Linked DNA regions of Homo sapiens: regions 1 and 2 are each linked to region 3. The links are contacts of gene promoters, found by promoter capture Hi-C in blood cells and fetal thymus (Javierre and others, 2016). All regions are on one chromosome and are shown on one strand. Each heading gives the region's core, a stretch centred on a gene start or on the middle of the fragment in contact. The rest is flanking DNA. Distances are from core to core; before and after follow the strand shown.

Region 1 (2,964 bases), core at 337-2,836, about 18 Mb before region 3:
ATTGTTACAAAGTAGCAATTACCGGCCATCCTGTTACCAAATGGGAATACACAAAGACAAAAACGTGTGTGTGACCGACACACACACACACTCACTCTTTTTTCCTGGTTTTAACTACTGAAAGTTAATATCAGGCCCCCCTAATTTCTAAAACATCTAATTGTTCTTTGGACAACTATGTTAGTACCAAACTATAAAAGCAAATACTTTTGTATTTGTGTTCACTACTGCAAAATGTTGGTTACACACAGAAAGGGCTATCGTGGAAAGAAATTAAAATCAATGCACAAAATGGTGCTTTTATAGCATTTCCAAAACGATTGTGCATACTCCTTGCCAGCACATCTAGACTTTGCTCCTTAAGACTAAACATGAGCTGGCCGTGCGCGGTGGCTCTCGCCTGTAATCCCAGCACTTTGGGAGGCCGAGGTGGGCGGATCACGAGGTCAGGAGATCGACCATCCTGGCTAACACGGTGAAAACCCGTCTCTACTAAAAACACAAAAAATTAGCCGGGCATGGTGGCACGTGCCTGTAGTCCCAGCTACTTGGGAGGCTGAGGCAGAAGAATCACTTGAACCCAGGAGGCGGAGGTTGCAGTGAGCCAAGATCGCGCCACTGCATTCCAGCCTAGGCGACAGAGCGAGACTCCGTCTCAAAAAAAAAGACTAACCAAGAACCAAATTAGCATACTTCCCCTTCAGGCATACTGAGCCCCGAAATCATCATCTTCCTCCTAAAGAGTAATTATCTCCTCCTAAAAGGCCTGCGCAGCTCACAGCTCCTCCGAAACACGGGGGAACTTCGCGAGAGCTCAAGACCCTGGACTTGAGTTTTAGAAAAATGCTTAACAAAGTGGCCTCTGCCACTTAACTGCACGACAGCCACTGTGCTGTGAGAGGAAAAGGTCGAAAGAGGAGGAAAGCTAGTCTTCAATTTTAATCCCTGTGATTCAGGCTCTTCGCCCGTCACTCTCCAACCCTAGCCTGACAGGACGTCAGGCTGTCTCCCCCTTCCCCACCAGTCCCGCCACCTACCCCGCAACAGTGCTGAGTCTTAGGATTTTGAAGCTTTAAAAATCAACCCGGCTCCCTAGAGTTCAGGCCGCAGTCGCTGCCGCCATGTTACAGCTTGTGCGGCAAAATGCGTCAGTGAGGGAGGTGTGCGCCTGAGTGGGGAGGGCGGGGGCTGGCAGAGGAAGGACCGTCCCCAGGCCCCGGGGCTCGACTGCAAGCCTTCTCCTTCTGCAACAGCGGCAAAGGCACTGCTGCGGTCCTCAGGGACTTCCTCTGGGCCCAAGCAGCCCCGATACCTCGAGGGAAAGACGGTAAACCCAACCCGGTCAGCCGCGCCGGCTCCGCCCCTCTTCCCAGGCCCTTCCCGCTTTCGTACGCAGGGACTGCTGAAATGACGCCGCCAGAACAACTTGAGCCTCATACCACTTACCTGCACCGGTAGAGTTTTCCTCTTCTCTGGGTCCGGTCCTTTGAAGCGCTTCAAATCTACCGCCGCCAGAAAAGGCGCTAAAGCCCGCTAACCGCCTCCCTCCCCCACAACTCAGTCCTGGCATGGAGAGACAGCGTCGCACCGGAAGCGCGTCAGGAGTGGGTTGTCAGCATCGGCCAGCGTTCACCTGCTTGCGTCACCACGCCCTCCTAGGACTTCTAGGATTTTGGTGCCTTTTAAATTCCTAGTTTATAGGTGGCCTAATGCTTTGTGGATGCGTTGACTGGGAACGCTTGTAACCGTTAAAATGCCATATCCTTTGTGAAGTAAAGTGCCTCATTTAATAAACATTTATTGATCTTACGCTAGGTTATCAGAAAGGAAGGCCTACCTTCATGGAGCTTCCAGTTAAGCTTCCACTTAACGCTAGGATATAAGTTCTAAAAACGCAGTAATGAGCAAAGTGTTATTTGAGGAAAGAGGAAGAAATTACAAAGAGCTTTGATGTTCTTTGTTGTTTTACAGATAAAGAAATTGAGGCTCAGGGAAGATAAACGCCTCCTCCTCAAACACACTGTTCTTGAATGCCAAAGCAAGTCTTTTGATGCCAAATCTAGTGCCTTCTAGAGAAAATATGGCATATATTATTTAATTATTTTAAGGGGCAAGGGTCCCCGGATTATGTTAGAAATAAATAACCATTGCTGTTTGGGCGGGGGGGTGGGGGGGGATGGGCAGTGATTCTGGTAGGGATGTGGGGTGTGTTTTAAAGGAACTAGCTAACTAGAGGACTTAAATTGTTCTGTCGTTTAAAGGCAACGTAAATTATGATCATTTAAATTTTTCACTCACTTGCATCAGGTAAATTAATTATCAACAACAGTTAGGCATGTGGTGGTGCTTCTAAGGGGCGTGACCAGTTTTACACAGCAGTAAAACAGAGGACATTTCTGCCTCTCCACCCCCACCTCTTTTAAGTCATTGCCCTTTATTGCAGGAGAGCAGCAGCATATTCATCTTTAGATAGTTCAGAGATTAAACGGATTTACACTTCGCTGTGTGTGGAGGGGACAATTCTGCAATACCTTAAAACAGGGGTCCCCAACCCCTGGGCCACAGACTGGCCTGGCTAATTTTTTGTATTTTTAGTAGAGACAGGGTTTCTCCATGTAGGTCAGGCTGGTCTCAAACTCCCAACCTCAGGTGATCCGTCCTCCTTGGCCTCCCAAAGTGCCGGGATTACAGGTGTGAGCCACCACGCCCGGCCAACGCTTTTCGAAAGAAGACATACTTGCAGCCAACAATCATAATGAAAAAGCTCAACACCACCAATCATCAGAAAAATGCAAATCAAAACCGCAGTGAGATACTATCTCATACCAGTCAGAATGGCTATTATTAAAAAGTCAAAAAATAACAGGTGCTGGTGAGGTTGTGGAGAAAAAGGAACATTTTACAGTGCTGGTGGGAGTTTAAATGAATTCAACTATTGTGGAAGACAGCGTGGCGATTCCTCAA
Region 2 (3,117 bases), core at 147-2,646, about 13 Mb after region 3:
GAATGATGAAATGGTAATTTGAAATATTCCACCAATCTCATCGTGGCAGGAGAGATGTAATTTTTCAAGGTATGAACCTTTTACCTCTGTCAGTTTCTAGTCCAAGAAACAGTGGATTCAATTGCAAGTGGGAAAGTGAGTACCACAATGGGTCAAACTAGGCCCAAGATTATTCAAAAATAGACAAAGCATCAGAAGCCTGGAAAGAATCACTGAATGACAGAGTTCAGTCAGGAAAGAGACAAGCGAAAGTTAGGATAAGCAGATGGTGAATCTTATTTCTACTGGGTTGTGTGACTGCTTTGAGAGAGAAAATGCTACCTTCCCTTTTCTTTTATGTTGAATCAATATACAAATACATTGACTCAAAAAGAATTAGGAAAAAGGAGAGCAGCAGGAATACAAGTGGGCTCTTTGAAGACTTGGACCCCGAACCGCGCGGTTAGCTTGATGTACTCTGGTATAAGTGAGCAAAAATGTATTAGAAAGCAGGTTAAAGAGAGGTTAAAGGCATGACCACCGGACTGGAGGTAGTGAGCGGTCTGCGAAGCTGAGAACTCTGCCTAAAATGGGCTAACAGGGACGAGAGTTTCAAGTGTCTGTATTTGGGATGAGGAGGTATGAAAGTGGACGCTGCGCGGTGGCAGAGCATGCAGTTTCTGCCTTTGGGCAGCACTCAGGTAAAAAGGGGCAGGTGTGGAGGTATACAGGTATAGAGGAGGAGAGAAGCCAGAGGAAAAGAAGGGGCGAGGCCCGGGGGTAAAACTAAAGGGGATCCTGGAAGGTGGAGGCTGGGAAATCAAGGAGGGATTGGGGGCAACCCCGGGGAAAGTGGTGCCGCCGCGCGAGGGAAGGGCGGTCCGGGGGCGTGGGAGGTAGTCCCCAGAGCAGGCCGGAGCTCGCCGCCCGAGCAGGGGTCCGGGACCCAGAGAGCAGAGGGCGCAGTGAGGCGCGAGCAGGAGGCCGCCGGTCTACGGAGAGCCGGGGGAGGGGAGCAAGCGCCTGGGGCTGCCGCGGGGACTGGGGGGAGGGGAAGGGGCGCCTACCTGGACGTGCTGGGCGGCAGCGGTCAGTCCTGGTGGAGACTCCTCTCCCGCTGAGGCGGTGGCCGTGTCCGCCCTGGGAGCCCGAGGCTGCGGTGGTGGCAGCAGGGGTGATGGCGGCAAGTCCCTGTGGCGGCCGCCTCCGCCGAACCGCATCCCTCCTCCCCGACCCGCCCTCCTTCCCTATCTCCCGCTCCTAAACTTCTTCCCCGGGATAAACAAACCCGCCGCCAGGGGCGGCCACCTCCGCCACTCCCGCCCCCGCGCAGCCCCCACCCCCCCGCCGCGGGCCCGTCTGGGCTCCGGCTTCCGAGTTACGACTCCAGCCCCGGCTCCAGCCCGCGAGGGCGCGTGCGCGCGGCGGCGGCGGCGGCGGCTCCTGGGCCCTTGCTCCCTCCTACAGCGCCGGGCACTTCCGGGCGGGCCCGGATTTGCCGCCGCGCTTGGGAAGCCGCCACCGCCGCCGCTGCTGCATGGCACTAGGCTCCCGGCGGGGCAGGTTCCGCAGCCGGCACCGCTCTGGCTAGGCGCACGGAGGCGCCTTGCTTAGTCTGACCCTTATTTGGCCAGGCGTAAAACTTGTCCTGCCTAAAAGCCTACTGAGACCTCCTAACTGGTCTAATCCGCGGGAGACGCCAAAGGCGGCGGCCGTTTGTGCGCACAGGATTTTTCTTGGAGCTGTAGCAGTCTAGGAAGCCAGGGTGGAACTTTTGCTAAGCTCCCGTTGTAAGCCCAGAGCTGTAATAACTGCTGAGACACAACCAGCAGTATACAGGCTCCAGTTGGAAATCGAGAACTTTCCAGGTAGATGAAGTGCCCCATGGAGCAGTTTTCAGGTGGAGGGGATGAGGCTCAGCTGGAAGTCTCAGGCCAGAAGGAGAGGCTGCCGAGGGGCGGCCAGGGATGCCTAGGAAGTGAGCGCAGAAGACCAGGCGGCCTCCTGGGACCGCACGGTGGGAAATAAAGCTGCACCTGCACAAATGTGTGAAGAGAGGATGGGATTGCCTTGTCTCTTCGGACATTTAGTTTAAAAAGGGGGTGACAACTGAACTTTTTATTCCCCACGGCCATGGGACAAAGATACTTAATCGAGCTACCAGGAGTAAACTTCTTTAAAGAAGTTTGGGGGACCAACAATCCCGGCTTTGCCAGAACAGACATGAACGTCATTCAAGGATCCCAACTCTTTTTGCTTTAACTGTGCATACGTCAGCAATTTTTGTTTTGTTTTGTTTTTGACAGGGCTGTCACCCAGGCTGGAGTGCAGTGGTGCCATCACAGCTCACTGCAGCCTCGACCTCCTAGGCTAAAGTGATCCTCCCAACTCAGCCTCCCGTAGCTGGGACTACAGGAATGTGCCACGCCCAGGTAATCTTAATTTTTTGTGGAGACGAGGTCTTGCTATGTGGCCCAAGCAGATCTCGAACTCCTGAGCTCAAGGGATCCTCCCACCTTGGTCTCCCAAAGTGCTGGGATTTGCAGGCGTGAACCACCACACCTGGCCATAAACCAACTTCTCATTGCTTACCTGGCTTTCCAAGAAAAGAGAGAGGGCAGAGGGAAAATATTTATTATTTTGCTATGTACTGAGTATTCTAAGCATGGACTTGTATCGTCTCTGTTCTCTCAACAACCTCTCTAAAACTTCAACGTAGAAATTTCCATCTTAAAATTAAGCGACAAGAACTAGAAATGGCAAGTAATTCATCCAGAGGTTACTGGGATTTGAATACTGGACAGGCAGATCCCCCTCATTTCAAATTAATACTACATTAGCTGTCTTTTTTATTTCTTTTTTCTTTTTGTTTGTTTGAGACAGGATCTCGCTTTGTACGCCAGGCTGGAGTGCAGTGGCGCGATCCTGGGTCACCTCCCAGATTCAAGCAATTCTGTGCCTCAGCCACCAAGTATCTGGGACTACAGGCGTGAGCCCGGCTAATTTTTGTATTTTTAGTAGAAACAGAGTCTCACCATATTGCCCAGGCTGGGCTCAAACTCCTGGCCTCAAGTGATCCTCCCACTTCTGCCTCCCAAAATGCTGGGATTAGCACCTGACCTTACGTTAGCAATCCTG
Region 3 (3,294 bases), core at 399-2,898:
AAAAAGGTTTATAAAATGTCCAGGAGTTCTTAGTAGATGTTAGCAATTACAATTATTAATAGTATGTCCAGGAGCCAACTCTTCATCTTCAGATCTCTAACACTTTGCAGAATACCAGATTTGAAGCTGAGTTAAATTCAGACTGTTAGTACATGTCTCAGCTTTAGAATGTAGGTGTCCAAAAAGACTTCCCCTCCACCTGTATCATTTGCCTTTTAAACAGAATCTGAGTCAATATATTAAGTTAGTCCTGTTCTGGCCATGGTCCTGTCCTTTAGTATCTTCTTGTAAAAAATAAAAATAAGAAGAAATGAGGTTCAACTAAATAACCTCGAGAGTTCATATTCCCTCTAAAATTTCAAGGTAAAACTAAAGTAATTCTTTCTCAAGTTGCAGCAGAAGGAGTTTTTGTATTTTCTAACTGGTCTGATAAGCACAAAGAAGTCGTTTTTTTTACTTAGAAATGCCATTTTACAGGAGGCTGAGGTGGTGGGATCACTTGGGCCAGAGCTCAAGATCAGCCTGGGAAACAGTTAGATACCTGCCCCCAGCACCCAAATTAAAAGTACAAAAAATCTGGGTGCGGTCGTGAATTCCTGTAATCCCAGCTACTTGGGAGTGGAGGTGGAAGGACTGCTTGAGCTCAGGAGTTGGAGACTGGGCAACAGAGCAAGACTCATCTCAAAAAAAAAAAAAAAAAAGAGAAATGTCACCACTTTAAACTGGTTCCCATCAACCTTTTTGATACAAAGAAATTTTACTTTTGTTAAACTATTTTAGACCACTGTATCAGTTATTATATGTGACTAGGTAGCATGATAACCTATAATTTATGCCTTGAAATAATTTTGACTCATTTTCTTCCCACATCTGTATTTATGAGCCGGGGCAGCTGTGGGGTGGTTCTTTGTGTGGGATTAAGAGACACTGCAGTTCTTGAAATAAACCAGATGTTTGAATTTTCAAAGGAAAAGTTCACACCTAGTGAAGTATTTATTTACAAGCTCCACAACAAAACAAGAGATTATAAGAAAACTTTCAAGGGACATGGGTCACAGAAACCAACAGGAACACCACAGCTTTCCCAACTTCATGGCCCCGGGGGATGTTACAAAAGACACAGAAACGCCGATCTTGTGCTGACTGTAAACATTTGTCAACTAGTGTTACAATGACTAAGAAATTACAAAAGAGTTACAATCTGATGAAGAGCGATTCCTGCTTTGACTTTATTTGGTTTCTATCCACTTTTCCAACATACCTTATAAAATACATGCAAAAAACTGGTTTTAGAAAGCGTTCCCTAAAATTAGTGTGTACGGAAACTTCAGGTATACTTCTGCTTTCCTCCGCAAAACCACCCCTTTTTAAAAATCGAAAGTGAAATTAGTTTTTTTTTCTGTTAGTGACTAATCATTGGAGACAACCATGTTTAGTATTTGAGCATTGGTTAAATGCTAAAGAAAAATCGCCGTTAAAGCAGTTTTCTTTTTCACTGTCTTTTTCTTTTCGCGGGGAACCCAGCTGTTCCTGCGAGGGCCACCTCCTCAGGAAGACCCCGCAGCTCTCCCGCGGCGCTTCTGCAGGAGGCAGCGACAGTTTCGAGAACCCGGGCCTTCCCCTCCCAGTGCCTCCCGGGGTTCCGGCGTTTCAGGCGCTGCTGTTTTCCGGGAAGGGCAGGCGCGCTGGGCCTTGGGGAGCTGCGCTCGGCGGGCGGACGCGGGTGAGTGGGGAGTCCCTTCCCCGGCTGCCACTCCCGCCGCTGGCAGTCCCGGGCTGGAGAGCCGGGGGTGGAAAGGGAGGTGGGAGCCCTCAGCGCCGACGGAAGTGGGACAGCGCCGGAGTTGAGACCCTGCTCCCCGGGAGCTGCCCGCAGCCGAGTCGCGGAGGCCACGCCGCCTTCGAGGGGGCGCACCTGCTCCTGGGCCCGCTGTGCAGTCTCTGGGCCGTCAGGGCTTCGAGCCTTGTCACTTGTTTGCTTTGCTTCATTGAGGAAATTGAAACATAAAGTTATTTGTGTTTCCTCGCTGTTTTCTCTCTTTTTTTTTTTTTTTTTTTTTTTTGAGACGGAGTCTCGCTCTGTCGCTCAGGCTGGAGTGCAGTGGCGCGATCTCGGCTCACTGCAAGCTCCGCCTCCCGGGTTCACGCCATTCTCCAGCCTCAGCCTCCCGAGTAGAGTAGCTGGGACTACAGGCGCCCGCCACCACGCCTGGCTAATTTTTTTTTTTGTATTTTTAGTAGAGACGGGGTTTCACCGTGTTAACCAGGATGGATACGATCTCCTGACCTCGTGATCCGCACGCCTCGGCCTCCCAAAGTGCTGGGATTACAGGCGTGAGCCACCGCGCCCGGCCCTCGCTGTTTTCTCCGAGTGTCTCTGGAGATAGTCCTTAGGAAAACGGATTTCTTAAGAAAACGATTCTTGGTAGGGGCAGTGTTGTGCAGTCATGGCTGGCGTGTCAGAATAGGCAAGGTTTTTCTTGAAGGAGACATCCGAAGGAGAATACTGTGTTTCCAGTCTGTACAACAGGCAGACGTTCTATTGCCTTTCTTTTTGCTGCCACGCATGCATATAGGAAGATTCGATTCTACACGGCCTGGCACCGCAGTTATATGATTGTATTACGGAAATACGGTGATGTTGATTTGTATCAGTTTTTTTAATTCGCTGCCATAACAAATTACATGGCTTTAGTGGCTTAAACACATAGGAACGCGCGCGCGCGCGCACACACACACACACACACACACTCACATACACAATTTACTATCTTAGGATTCTGTAGCAGTCCTACTGAGGTCTCACTGGGTTAAAATCAAAGTGTTGGCAGGGTTGCCTTCCTTTCTGGAAGCTCTTGGGGTGAATCCTCTTTCCATCTTCCGGAGGCCACCTACCTTATTTGGCTCAGCAGCCCTTCCTCCATCTTCAGGGCCAGCAACATTGCGCCTCTGAAAGTTCTTCCGGGGTCACATTTCACTCTTGACTCTTCTTCTGTCTTCCGCTTTCACTTTTAAGTAGCCTCATGATTACACTGGGCTCCCACAGATAATCCAGGATGCTCTCCATATTTAAAAGCAAGCTGATTAGCAACCTTAATTCAATCTGCAGCCTTAATTCTCCTTTGCAATATAAACTAACATAATCACAGATTCTTGGGATTAAGATGTGGACATCTTTGAGGGAGCCATTGTTTTGCCTACTACATGATTGCATAAAAGGAATGACCATACATCCCACTCATGCATAGAGCAAAAGTATCCAGATGCAAAAGATGCCAAAAGGGTTCTGGTGGT

Evidence for each region. The method cuts DNA at HindIII sites, captures the fragments that hold promoters and counts their contacts. A CHiCAGO score of 5 or more calls a contact.
Region 1: the fragment with the promoter of PPIG here is called in contact with the fragment with the promoter of NMI in region 3 in 1 of 17 cell types (total CD4 T cells); the score reaches 7.2 in total CD4 T cells.
Region 2: the fragment with the promoter of SPOPL here is called in contact with the fragment with the promoter of NMI in region 3 in 1 of 17 cell types (total B cells); the score reaches 7.9 in total B cells.

The regions. Positions count from the first base shown.
Region 1 is chr2:169,582,973-169,585,936 of GRCh38, reverse strand. PPIG (peptidylprolyl isomerase G) reads right to left here and starts at 1,586. Exons shown (of 14, transcript NM_004792.3): 1 at 1,447-1,586. RefSeq lists an enhancer at 1,621-1,670. The HindIII fragment of the contact is 789 bases long and covers 1,073-1,861 here.
Region 2 is chr2:138,500,049-138,503,165 of GRCh38, reverse strand. SPOPL (speckle type BTB/POZ protein like) reads right to left here and starts at 1,396. Exons shown (of 11, transcript NM_001001664.3): 1 at 1,047-1,396. It overlaps SPOPL-DT (SPOPL divergent transcript), which reads left to right and starts at 1,471. Exons shown (of 2, transcript NR_187149.1): 1 at 1,471-1,847; 2 at 2,286-3,117. RefSeq lists silencers at 711-760, 961-1,500. The HindIII fragment of the contact is 5,215 bases long and covers 1-3,117 here.
Region 3 is chr2:151,288,022-151,291,315 of GRCh38, reverse strand. NMI (N-myc and STAT interactor) reads left to right here and starts at 1,648. Exons shown (of 8, transcript NM_004688.3): 1 at 1,648-1,723. RefSeq lists enhancers at 1,060-1,479, 1,540-1,619, 2,010-2,059, 2,080-2,129, 2,930-3,099 and a silencer at 1,680-1,879. The HindIII fragment of the contact is 4,870 bases long and covers 1-3,294 here.